Regions from separate parts of the Homo sapiens genome. Here region 2 is linked to region 1. The links are contacts of gene promoters, found by promoter capture Hi-C in human tissues and cell types (Jung and others, 2019). All regions are on one chromosome and are shown on one strand. Each heading gives the region's core, a stretch centred on a gene start or on the middle of the fragment in contact. The rest is flanking DNA. Distances are from core to core; before and after follow the strand shown.

What was found. The method cuts DNA at HindIII sites, captures the fragments that hold promoters and counts their contacts. A contact is called where the count stands out against the background at its distance.
Region 2: a fragment that was not itself captured here is called in contact with the fragment with the promoter of CCDC68 in region 1 in 1 of the 25 tissues and cell types used here (hippocampus).

What each region holds. Positions count from the first base shown.
Region 1 is chr18:54,956,244-54,963,172 of GRCh38, forward strand. CCDC68 (coiled-coil domain containing 68) reads right to left here and starts at 3,218. Exons shown (of 12, transcript NM_025214.3): 1 at 3,093-3,218. The HindIII fragment of the contact is 9,753 bases long and covers 1-6,929 here.
Region 2 is chr18:54,623,164-54,630,092 of GRCh38, forward strand. No RefSeq gene overlaps it. Among named protein-coding and RNA genes, the nearest start is that of DYNAP, 35 kb to the left of the region's middle. The HindIII fragment of the contact is 9,961 bases long and covers 1-6,929 here.

The sequences.
Region 1 (6,929 bases), core at 1,968-4,467:
TCCCAAAATGCTGGGATTATAGGTGTGAGCCACTGTGCCCAGCCAAGGTAAGAAGTTCTTAACATTGGTTTGTTGGAGAGTTACACACAGAAAACACCACTGCTTAATAGGAACCTGGATGTTTAACTCTTGGCATTCATATTTAAAATTATCATAGAAGAGAGTCAAAGCACCAAATAAGAGGTTGGCTCATATCAGTTATTCTCACATTATGCTACCATAGAAGCTGCACCAATGTATCTGTTTTACCATGCAAAAGTATTTGCAGAAAGGTCTACCAAATGGTGAACAAAATGCGGCATAGCCATGGCATGGAATAAATCCTAGTTAAGCAATAAAAAGGAACCAACTACAGCTACATGTGACAACCTGAATAAACCTCAACAGCTATTCTAACTGAAAAAAGCCAGATGCTAAAGACTATATATTGTACGATTCCATCTGTATGAAATGTCCAGAAAAGGCAGATCTAAACAGACAAAATAGATTAGGGGTTGCTGGGGCTGGGGTAAGAACGGTGAGTGATTGCAAACAGGCCCCAGGGATATTTGGGGAATGATGAAGTGATCTAAAATTGGATTGTGCTAATGGTTGCACCATTCAGTAAATTTACCAAAAATCATTGAATTATACACTTGGATGTATTTTATGGTATGTAAATTATACCTCCAATAAAGCTTTTTTAAAAAAAAATACAGAAGGAAAAGTAAGAATAACTTGAATAAAGATGCTGTTTTCCTCTGGGGGTGGGGTGAATGTAACTGTAGTCTTATTTTTCTAATTTATAGGAAAAAATATAATTTAATGGATAGATGTTTTTCAGTTTTAAATTTTTTGTTCATTAATTTTTGTCTCTAGATTATTGTCATCCATACTACAAGTTTAGTTTTTATTTAATTTGCATGAAATTGATACTTAGCTATTTTAAGTTAATATTTCATAACATTAAGCCTGGAACACATGATTCCTAAGTTCTTCCCCAACCTAAACAAAAGAGAAAACCACTGAGCAGAATAACATGCAAGCTCCTCTATCATTTTTAGACTTGACTTTTTAAATCAGTGAAAGGAAATATGTGATTTGAAACTAATCTAGTTTTAGTCACTGTCGAAATTGAATGGATCATTTATGTGGTCTGTAAATCTATGGCCTTGACTTGGGGTGGCCTGGAGGACTCCAATGTAGTAAATTCCAGGAGGATAGAAATGTGTCTGATTTACACAGGGCTGTGTTTGGCCCAGACCCTACTTCCCCTCCCATCTGGTTCTCCCACACAGAACACAGTGTCCTCAATAAATATTGTTTCAATGAATACATGAATAGGCCCACAAATTTACAGATGTACCAAATAGTTTCTAAAACAATGTACACACACACACACACACTCTCTCTCTCTCTCTCTCTCTCTCTCTCTCATTTTCCAAACCTATATAAATGGCTGTTTTTGTGCTTAGTAAATGACATTCATTTAAACGTGTTAGTAAATTCATGGTAAAATTTTGCCATTATGAAATGTTTTCAATCAATAAATAGCCATATAATTTTGATGTAAATATCTCAGTTCTAAAGATGAGAAACTACTATTTTAAAAGACTTTTACATTCCCATCAAAATCTTCAGTTATTTCCCCTTTCAGTCATTATTCCAAGCAAATAAACACCTCATTTTTCAGGTTTGTCTAAATCTAGCTTACATTTTTTAGCTTTGGCCAAAATTTGGATTACAACTCACCTTCAATGTTGAGCATACTGTAAACAAATAAGCTAACAAATAACATGCCTATCAGTAATTCACAAAATAGCAACAGTATTAATTTCAAAAGTCTCTTTCTAGTTAGGACAAGGGATCAATTTATTTTGTAAATAACAAGAGGAAAGAACCTTCTTATGACGTCGGCCTTATGACGTTGGCCTGGGTCCCAAGAAGTGTAGTTGTTTTCATTCTTTCTGCAAACATTTGAGGAACCACACGGGGATACTCCCTGCCTTGGGCAGAAATTCCTCTGTGTCAGGGGCCTTCCCTCTCAAATTGGGAGTGGGGTGGGGAAGAGAGTGGGCAGCGGGGGAAAAGCATAACAACAGCACCAATTGTGTCTGCCAGGGTACCTGACACTCCTGCCCAGCTCACATATCAGGAAAACCAGACTTCAGTAGCTCTGAATATTTAATGGCATTAGGTAAAATCAAAAGAACAGATTATCTCCTCCCTATCACAAACACAGAATAATTCCTTTTTGTATTCTGACACTTCATCCGAACTATATACACCAAGAAAGTAAAAGAGGTTTTGATTCCTAAAATAAAACAATCAGAATATAATGGGGAGCAGGTACACCTTCAGTTATGTTCAGGGCTTGTTGCTTGTTCTGATCCTTATATTCAATTTTGTCTTCACTTCCAAAAAGGCTGAAAATTCACAGCTATGTTATCATCCAATCTAAAAACTACACTTGCACGGTCCCGTACTAACCTTCAGTAAGATAAGAGTGTTCCTTTGTCTAGCCGCCTAGCACTCTGTAACTTCCACATCTAAAATATCATGATGCTACTCAACATTAAGGAAAAGGTCAAGCAATGGGCTGCTCTTTTTACTACACCTGCGGCTGCAGAAGCCCGCACAAATGAATGAAGACAGCCACCTTCATTCATCTCTGCTCTTTAAAAAATGCGAGCGCAGTGACCTGTCAAAGCCACCACGCTGGAGTTCCTAGGTCAGGGCGTTTACCGCAGGACTTTTCTCCATAGCCTCTGAAATTAGCAGGCAGAAATCGCGGGGACCCCTGACAAACGGATTGTATAACAACAACCTAAATAAATAATCAGGTGTGCGCCGGACTAAGTAGGGGTTCCTCTCTGCGGAAAAGCAGCTCTTCCCAATGGGGAAGAAACTTCTCGCCCAGGAAATTCGAGCCCAGAACCGAGGTTTCCAGGGAGGATTACCTCTTCAACAAGGACCCTTTTACAGGAAATGTCCTTGATGCCAGGAACTCCACTGGGGAAGCCGCTGGAAAGGCACCTGGACACCCACACACATGGAGGGGATGCGGGGGCGCGCCGCAGGGACCGGGCCCGAAGGTGGCCAGACTCGCCTACCTTGTGGGGCGCCCAGCCGACGCGGGGTCCCGGTGCTGCTCCTCCCCTGGGCGATCGGACCTTGGGGCCAGGGTCGGCTGCCAGGGCCCTGCGAGTGCAGCCGCCACCGCCCGCAGGCTTGGCTCCGCCCCGCGGGGCGCGCCCAGGGCAGAGTCCGGCGCCGGTGAGGCCCCGGGGAGGAGTCGCGGCAGGACGCGTACGCCCAGCGCTGGAGAGCCAGGCTCTGCCCCTCACGCCCCTCGCTAGGGTGCTGTACAGGCGGGTGGGGGGAGGGGATCGGCCGCTGCTTTTCAAGAAGGTTCTATTTGCACCCTAAGTTTATAAACTTTTGTTTTTGTTTTTTAAATAATTTTTGATTTTATTGTTTTTAGTATAAATTTATGGAGTACAAGTGCAATTTTGTTGTTTTTTTAAAAAACTTTCTTTTGGAACTTAAAAAAAGTTGCAAAGATAGTAGAGAGAGTCGTCTATATACCCCTCAGTCGGTGTCTCCTAATGCCTACAGCTTCCATAACTGTGGCACATTTGTCAAAACTAAGAAATTCACATTGGGCCAGGTGCGGTGGCTCACGCCTTGGTAATCTCAGCATTTTGAGAGGCCAAGGCAGGCGGGAGGATCGCTTGAGCTCAGGAGTTCGAGACCAGCCTGGGCAACATAGCGAGACCTCATTTCTACTAAAAATATTTTTTAAAAGACATTAACATTGATCTGCCACTATTAACACTACTCCAGACTTGATGTAGCTGTCACTAGCTTTTTGGCTAACGCCTTTCCCTTTCAGGATCCCAGCCAGGATACCACACTGCATTTAGCATCCTGTGCCCTTTGTCTCCTCTAATCCATGACAGTTTCTCTGTCTTTTCTTGACTTTGACAGCTGTAAAGAATTCTAGTAAAGTATTGTGATGAAGTATTCTGGTAAGGTATAGTTTTGTGGGGGTACCTCGACACCCACTCATGTGGGTATTGTCTACTGTTTTTTTCTCATGATGAGACTGGGGGGAGGAAAGACTCAGAGATGAAGTGCCTTCCCCACTGCATCCTCTCAGGGACGATGGCACGATGGCCAGGTGACTTATCACTGGTGACTTGACCTTGATCCCATAGTTAAGGTTGTGTCTGCCAGGTTTCTCTACTGCAAAGCTGTTTTTCTCTTTCCATACACTCTACTCTGAATGGCATGAATGGCATGACTCAATTCAGCTGACACTCAAGATGAGGGCAAGATTAAACTCCATCCCAGAGCAGGGAGTATCTATATGTTATTATTTAGAATGATTCTGTAAGGAAGATTTGTTCCATCTCTCTTGTTTATTCAATCATTTATGTCAGTATTTGTTATGTCAGTATGGACCCATGTATATTTATTTTATACTTTGGGCTAGAATTCAATACTACATTATTAATTTTGTTGCTCAAATGGTTCCAGCTTTGACCACTGGGAACTCTTTCAGGTTGGCTCCTGTGTCTCTCTGAAAGTTCATAAACTTTTAGGATTGTGGGGAAAAAAAAAAGGTGTATTTCCTCCGCCCCCCCTCAACATCTAACAGATTGAGAAAACTGCAACCCAAATCCTTCAATATCCAAGGGCTTTTCAGAATCTTCCTGGGAATCCTATGATTACTGATTCCCACCACAGTTAGAGAGGAATGTTATTTTTTTTTTTTCCTAGCAGATTAACTTGTAGATTGTGACCCAATTGGAGAAGTGAAAGTTGATGGTTCTTAGGTAATTTTTTTGTTAACTAATCCTTGTGGTTCTAGTAAATAGATGTATGTATGTTTACAGACAAATCGTGTTCCAAAGATAGCCATGGATGTTTATTACAAGTTTCAGCATTGAAGAAACCCAGCTGTTGAGGATCATTTGTTACATTGCTTTGGTTTGCTCATGTTTGCATTTGCAAGTTGGTTCCATAAACACCACATTTCCTCCTTCTGAGCTTGGCTTTTGCTCAGCATTTGACACTGCCTGCTTTCTGAGACCTGTCCACCTCTCTTCCTGGCCTTGACCCTTCCTGGAGAAGGAAATCTACTTCTCCATTAGCTTGGGTTGAGCTGGGTAAACACAGGATGCGGTGAAGTACCAGTGAGTACTCCAGAACTGCAGAGCTAACTCATTTTCTATCTTTCAACTATTTTTAACAAAGTTAGAAAAGTAAGAGTTAAAGGAAAACATTTCATACCTAAGACTCACCATATCTGCTATGGACTGAATGATTTGTGTTCCCCCCTAAAAGTTTATATAATGAAATCCTAATCCCCAACGTGGTGGTGAAAGTGGGGTCTTCGGGAAGTAATTAGGTCATGAAGGTAGAGCCCTCATGAGTGGGTTTTAGTGCCCTTCTAAGAAGAGACAAAAGGCTGGGAATAGTGACTCATGCCTATAGTTCCATCTCTTTGGGAGGCCAAGGCAGGTGAATCGCTTGAGCCCAGGAGTTTGAAACCAGCCTGGGCAATATGGCAAAACCTCATCTCTACAAAATATACAAAAATTAGCTGAGCATGGTGGTGCACTCCTGTAGTCCCAGCTACTCAGGAGGCTGAGGCGAAAGGATCACTTCAGCCTGGGAGGTAGAGGCTGTAGTGAGCTGACAGTGTACCACTGCCCTCCAGCCTGGGTAACAGAGTGAGACTCTGTCTCAAATAAAGAGAGGGAGAGAGAGAGAAGAGATATCTGTCATGTGATAACACAGCAAGAAAGCAGCCATCTGCAAACCAGGAAGCAGGCCTCCACAGACACCACATCTCTGGGTGCCTTGATCTTGGACTGCCCAACCTCCAGAACTGTGAGAAATAAATAACTGTGGTTGAAGCCAGTTAATACCAGTCTATGTTATTTTGTTATAGCCCCTGGAACTAAGACAATATCCCAGAAGAAAGCGACAAGGTCAGAGATGAAGCTGAGATTCTTGTGTACGTTTCTGGGCGGGAGAGGAGAGACTTTAAGTGAAAGTGGTCATTCTAATTAGAATGAAATCATAGTTTTATTTCATAGTTCTGCAAATAGACTATTTTCTCAGTAACTTTAATAAAACTTTTGTGGAGGGGAGCAGAGTAAACTCAGGATTCATGAGAGTGTGGAGTTACAATATATTAGCAACCTCCACAGGGAAGCTCAGGAGAATCTATAAACTATTATTAATTTAAAACTCCAGTGGTGTTTCTCAGAGGTTGGATATTGGGGGATTAGGGATGAGGCAGGGATTGATGTTTATGGATTTCTCTTACAGCTACTGCCTTTGATTATTATTTTTATGACAGCATATGTACAAACCATTTAAAATTTTCCTAGAGCTGTATATCTTTACACTTTTAAGATTATCCACATTAAGAAAAAGTATTGCTATTACATAATTTTCGGAATGGCTTTGGTTGGGTCTGATAGAGATTAGGTCCCGGGGACTAAAGCATCCCCAAACCACCCAGAGTGCCCTCGTTGAATAAATCCGTTCTCCTACTCACTCCACTAAAAAGAGGAGGGATTGAGGGTGCAGAAGAAAGCAGCAGATGCAGTCTCCTCTCCTGAAGAACACTGTGAATTGTCACCCACGTTCAAAGAGGGTCTAATTGTAAATCTAACACCCTGCCTTGTGACATTCAGAGCCTGTGGCTTGTGGCATTTGGACCCAGGCTCATATTTGAAATCGCTCTTGTTTATTTCTGTTCAGGGATTATTTGCTGAAAGGGAAAGTTGTGTGTGTGTGTGCGCGCACACACGTGTGCGTGTACTTAGTGCAATTTTATTTTATTTAAAATTTGCATTTAAAATGTATTAAAATTATTTTATTTTAATATTATTTTAAATTTGCATTTAAAATACATGTGTGTGTCTATA
Region 2 (6,929 bases), core at 2,895-5,394, 330 kb before region 1:
TTTTTTTTTACTGGTAAATATTCTTTTGGTGAATGCCTAGAAAAATCTAATAATTTAAGAAATGTAATTACCCTTTTACATTCCCCAACTCATGCCACTATATGAAAATAGACTATTTGATTTACTTTGGGTGGGTGGTTTTAAAATGTAGTTGTAGTTGTCAGAGCAATGTCACAAAAGTTCTAGGTTCTATTTTCACAGGGACTTTAGCCTTCACTTGCGGCTGATCAGCACAAAGCAGATATAGCCATACAAGAAATTACAGGATTGAAGACTCCTATGAAGATAGCAGAAATGGGAAGTTTGAAAACTTCATTATAAATAAAGCATTTTATTGGGTGGTCAGAACTCTCAGAGTTAAAAAGTGATACTGAACATGCGTGTACTAATTAAATTGTGTACTCCAAGTCTGTTAGTTACATGTATTCTCAAACAAAAGACAGACTGTTTGTAATGATCATAAACTACATATTTACAGAACTTTGTAACCCTGAGCCAGTAACTTATCAGTTAGTCACCTGGTATTAATTGAGTTCTTATAAATTGTGCAGTTGGATACTAACCACTCAGGAAATTAATCTCAAATAATAGACCTGGCCCCCATCTTTGAGGAACTAGCATTATCATATTTATAATTTACAATTGCTTATGCTCAGTCCTAGGGCAGAGCTGACCTGGGACTGTACTATGTGCAGAGAAAGAATTAAGAGTCACAGGATAACAATGCAGAAATGCAGACGAGAATTAAAATGAGGAAACATTTTCAGAAAAAGGCAGTATTAAATAAAAGGCAGTGGTAGCCAGAATGTCCAACAACCTTTACTTGTCTTGGGCTCTTGATTAAATAGAAAAATTAGCTCATAAGTAGGTTAAATTATTTGTAAGAAAATGAGCAAAATATTGTATGATGGAAAAATTCAGATATACTATAAATCGGCAAGGAAGAAAAAAAAAGAATGCAATAAATGTTCCAGGAAAATTGATTAAATATTTGGGGAAAACCAGAAATTGATCTCAAATGTGTTAATGAGTTAATTAATGAAAATCAAAATATAAAAATCAGAAATAATTATTTTAACCTCAATGGTGTTTAACATTTCTGTAAGTAAAAAAAAAAATCTAAAAAACAACAGGAAAAAAACTATTGGAAAAACATTTGCCAAACATGGGATAAAAAAAGTCACTGATATTTTAATATATAAAGTGCTCTTTAAAGAAAAGAATAGTGAACCACAACAGTTAAACTACCATGAAACGTAAATATAAATAAAGCAAAATATATATATGAATAAGCATATATGAATATATAAATATGAATACTTTATAAATACAAAATGAATAATATGTAAATAGTTACTATGTTCACTCTCAGAGTTACAAAACAAAGGAAGTGACCACACACACACTTACATTTTTTTCCTGACTCAATTAGCAAAGTCTGACAAAATGGCAAAAGCAAGGGGACACAGTGAGTAGGGTAGTCTTATTACATTGTTAGTAACAGTGTAAACTGGTACAATTTTCTTTATTAATTTGGCAATATTTATCGAGATTTTTTAATCTAATTAATTCTACTTTTAGATTGAAACCTAAATAACCAATGAGACATTTTGCATTCAAATGTTTCACAAATTAATGAAAAAGCGATAAAATAGGCCAGACAATAATTTGGGGTCAGTGAGTAATGGAAACTGAAGTTCCTAGATTTAAAGTAGAATAATGAGTTTGGCCTCATATACAGATGCTCGACTTCTTTTAAATTTTCAAATAGTGGTTATAGAACATTATTTCAAAGCTGAGGTACAAAAGAAATCTAATGAGATCATATGTTACCTCTTACCTTATTTATATCAGCCTATCTTCTACTAAGTGATTTGTCTATTCGATTCCCTTGTGAAATCAATCAATTTGCCAGTTCGACATGGGCTTTTCAATTTAGAGTAGAAATGAAATTTCTGCTCTGCAGCAACTATTGGTTAACCTGAAGAAAATTTCTTAAATTCTTTGAGTCTTGGTTTCCTCATCTATCATATGAACCTAATAATACTTTTTCAGGAGCTTTTGTACCCATCACAGTTTCTGAAAAATAAATATTTCTTCTGATTAGTAGAAGAGCCAAATTGCTTTCACAGGAGCAAAAAATTACATATATAACATATATAATAATATATGTAAACTATTCATAAGCATGGATATTCCAGAGTCATTAATACTTTAATAAATATGTGTAATGTATAATAAAACTTCATTTATTCCAGGGTGTTCTCACTTCTATTATTTGGCTTATCATTACTTTTTTTACTCTACTTAGCTTCCAGATAATTTTCTCAAAATTCTGCATTTCTCTATTAGGGATTTCATAAGCAAGTCAACATAGCAATAGGAGAGAATCAGAAATTCGTCTGTTCTTATGATTTCCATATGATCATCAGAGCTAAGAAGTGCCATTATGGTACCAATATTCATGCTCTGTGGGCAACATGTTTTATTTCCTTATACTATTATCAACTGCTTTGAATAGTTGACATCTCTGGGATTTACAATTGGCTTCATAATTGTGACTTACAGATAAACTTTTCACCTCAAAGATAATTTACAACAGAATCCAGAAACAGAATATTTTCAGTTTTTCTAAGGATCTTGAACAATAATCTCTCTCTTTATTTCCTCATGGATAAAGCTAATTAAGCCCAAGAAATATCATCACAAATCCAGATCAAGACTGGCTGCTATGCTCTAGTGGTCTCCAGCTGATATAGTTTGAATGTGTCCCCACCTAAATTTCATATTAAAATGTAATCCCCAATGTTGGAGGTGGGGTCTGGTGGGAGGTGATTTGATCATGGAGGCAGATTTCTCATGAATGGTTTAGCATCATCCCCCTCAGTACTATCCTAGTGATAGTGAGTGACTTCTTCTTAGATCTGGTTGTTTAAAAGTGTGTAGCACCTCCCTACTTTCTCTCTTGCTTCTGCTCTGGCCATGTGACCTGCCTGCACCGCCTTCACCTTCCACCATGATTGTAAGCTTCCTGAGGCCTCCCAAGAAACTGAGCATGTGCCAGCATCATGCTTCCAGTATAGCCTGTAGAACTGTGAGCCAACTAAACCTTCTTTCTTTATAAATTACCGTGTTGCAGATATTTCTTTATAGCAATGCAAAATTGGACTAATACTGACTGCTTTCAACTTGCAGTAGCTTTCCCATGCAGTAGCTTGGGAAAAGGAAAAACCCTATTCTCTTGCCATCTTTTCTGAGGAGCAGTGCTTCAGTCTTTGATGGTTAAAGCGGACACCAAACTTTTTTTTTTTTTTTTTTTTTTTTTGAGACAGGGTCTTACTCTGTCACCCAGGCTGTAGTACAGTGGTGCAATTTTGGCTCACTGCAACTTTTGCCTCCCGGGTTCAAGCAATTCTCTGCCTCAGCTTCCCAAGTAGCTGGGATTACAGGGGCCCGCCGCCATGCCTGGCTAATTTTTTTGTAATTTTAGTAGAGATGGGGTTTCACCATCTTGACCAGGCTGGCCTTGAACTCCTGACCTTGTGATCCACCCACCTTGGCCTCCCAAAGTGCTGGGATTACAGGCATGAGCCACTGCACCTGGTTGAGACCAAACTTTAAAACAGAACAAAACAGCTTAAGTCTTCAGAGCTTAGAACAGACCATAAAGTTTAAGGTTCAGGTTTAGGTTCAAGGATTGACAGGAATTGGTATACTTCCTGAATTAGCAAAGAAACAAAGCAAAAGATTTACATAAACTCAGGGTACACAATCCCTGATACAAAGAATGTGGCTTCACGGTGCCAGCCTGTTCCCTGCTGAGAGGCTCCAAAGTCAAGTGTTCTCAGCACCTTCTGTGAAGTGAGGGGCTGAAACTCCAGGATTAGAAGTCATTGAGAGTGTGTTGAGAGAGGGAACAAACATCAGTCAAATATCAATTCTAGTTATCTAAAAGCAATTGTTCTGATTGCCAGACCACAGGTATATCATCTAGTTTATTTCTGTTTTATTTCTTACCATGCCATCAAGCCTTGAAAATGGAGGTTTCAGTGCACTAAACCTAATCAAACAGCAAAGGCACACAGGAATGGAAAGATACTCCATGTTCATGGATTAGAAAAATTGATATTGTAAAAGTACATACTATCCAAAGCATTCTACAGGTTTAGTGCAATCTCTACCAAAATTCCAATATCAATCTTCACAGAAATAGAAAAGCTATCCTGAAATTTGTGAGAAATCACAAAAGACTTCACATAGCCAAAGCAATCTGGAGCAAAAAGAACAAAGCTGGAGACATCACAGCACCTAATCTCAATTTATATTACAAAGCTATAGTAATCAAAACAGCATGGTACTGGCATAAAACCAGATACATTGACCAATAATAGAACAGGATAGGAAGTCCAGAAATCAACCCATGCATTGATGGTCAGTTGATTTTTGACAAAGTGCCAAGAACCCATAGTGAAGAAAGAATGGTCTCTTTAATAAATGGTGTTGGGAAAATTGGATATCCACATGCAGAAAAATGAAAGTGAATCTTTATCTCCCTCTATGTACAAGAATCAACTCAAAAGAAATTAAAGACTTAAAGCAAGACCTGAAACTATAAAACTACTAGAAGGAAACCTAGGGGAAAAGCAATGGTCTGGGCAATGATTTCTTAGATATGACCCCAAAAGTACAGGCAACAAATGCAAAAATAGACAAATGTGAATTGCATCAAACTAAAAAGTTTCTGTATGGCAAAGAAAACAATTAACAAAGTGAAAAGACACTGGGAGAAAATATTTGCCAATCATACATCTCATAAAGGCCTAATATGTTTTAAAATAAACAAGCAACACACACAACTCAATGACAAGAAAAAATTAGACCTGTTAAAAAATGGTGAAATGTCCTGAACAGACATATCTCAAAAGACATACAAATGGCCAACATGAATATGAAAAAATGTTCAACATCACTAGTCACCAGGGAAATGCAAATTAAAACCAGAATGAGAGGTCACTGCACATCTGTTAAACTGGCTGTTATCAAAAAAGTGATACTATCTCAAGAAAAAAAAATCACAAATATTGGTGAGGATGTGGGGAAAAGAGAACCCTTGTACACTGTTGATGGGAATGTAAATGAGTGTAGTCATTTTGGAAAGCAGCAGGGAGGTTCCTCAAAAAACTAAAAATAGAATTATCATATGATTAGCATCCCAGTTCTGGGTATATATCCAAAGGAACTGAAATCAGTATGTCAAAGAGATAACTGCACTCCTGTGCTTATTGCAACATTATTCCCAATAGCCAAGATATGGACACCACATAAATTCCCATTAATGGATAAATGGATAACGCAAATGTGGTATATATACACAATGAAATATTATTCAACCTTAAAAAAGAAGGAAATTCTGTCATTTGTGACAACGTGGATTCACCTGGAAGACAGTATGCTAAGTGAAATAAACCAGACACTGAAAGACCAATGCCACGTGATCTCACTTATATGCGGAATCTAAAAAAGTTGAACACACAGTAGTAGAGAGTTGAATGCTAGTTACCAGAAGCTGTGGGTTTTGAAGAAGATGGATGGGGGTAAAGGAGATGTTAGTCAAAGAGTACAAAGTTTAATTAGACAGGAGAAATAACTTATATTGGTCTTTGCATAGCATGGTGACTATAGTTAATAATGAGTATGTATATCCATATATAAATAAAAATATATATAGTTAATGTAATGTAGATTTCAAAATTACTAAAAGAATAGGTTTTAAATATTCTTACCCCATAGTAATGATAAGTATGTGACGTGATAGATATGTTAATTAGCCTGATTTAGCCATTCCACAAGGTATACATGTATCATAATATCACACTGTACCCCATAAATATACACAATTATTTGTAAATGAAAAATTTTTTTAAAGGCAATGGCTTTTTAAAAAAGCCTTCTGTATTATTTGTCGAAGAGCTGCTATGAAGACAGAGGAAAGAAAGGGTATTGAAAAAAATTCGAAATGACTTGTGTATTAATTTCATTAGACAGACCTTACAAACATCTACTAACAAGTTCTTATTTTTAACATGTTATTTAACGTGTAATATGTCACACATAGAGAAATTTTCATGTGTAGTTAATATTTATTGAATGAATACACTCAAGTTACCACCACTAGGTCAAAACAGAACATTCCAGAACCCCAGAGCCCTTCCATGTTTTGTCCAGCCCCAATTCGGCTTTTCTCCTTCCCCTGAGAGATAACCACCACCATGAGTTTTGCCTTAATCAATTCCTTGTTTTTCTCTATAGCTGCATCACTTATGTGTGCATCTCTAAACAAGACAGTTTCATTTTCTATTTTTTGCACTACATTGTATTTATGATATTCATGCTTGTTGATATGTTTCTCAATAGTCCATCTATTTTAATTGGTGAAAAGTATGTCATTGTCTAATTATACCACAATTTATTTATTCATTCTGCTGTTGATGTGTATTGGGGTCATCGTTTTTTAAGTTTACAAATAATGCTATTATGAATATTTGTGTATTTATGTCATACATCTTTTTCTATCATTTTTACTAACAATGTTTTGATTATTAGTTTTTAGATTATCTCCTCTAAAGAACACTCAATGAGATTCTGTTCTTCCATCTAGTCTGACAATCTCATTTCCAAAGGGAACATCCACTTAATCCATATTCAATGCAATGATCAATATACTTTAGCTCTAACCCTCCATCCTACCTTGTACCTCCTAGTTGTACACTTATCCAATGCTATTTTTTCTCTCTCTTAAACTATTTAAATGTTTTAATTTTTAAAAAATGTTTTAAAAAAGAATGTTTCTTTAAACTATTCCATCTTCTGTCAATTCTGCATTGGGCCTGCCTCTCATCCTAATGGCTTCTTGAGAAATCATTGTGTGT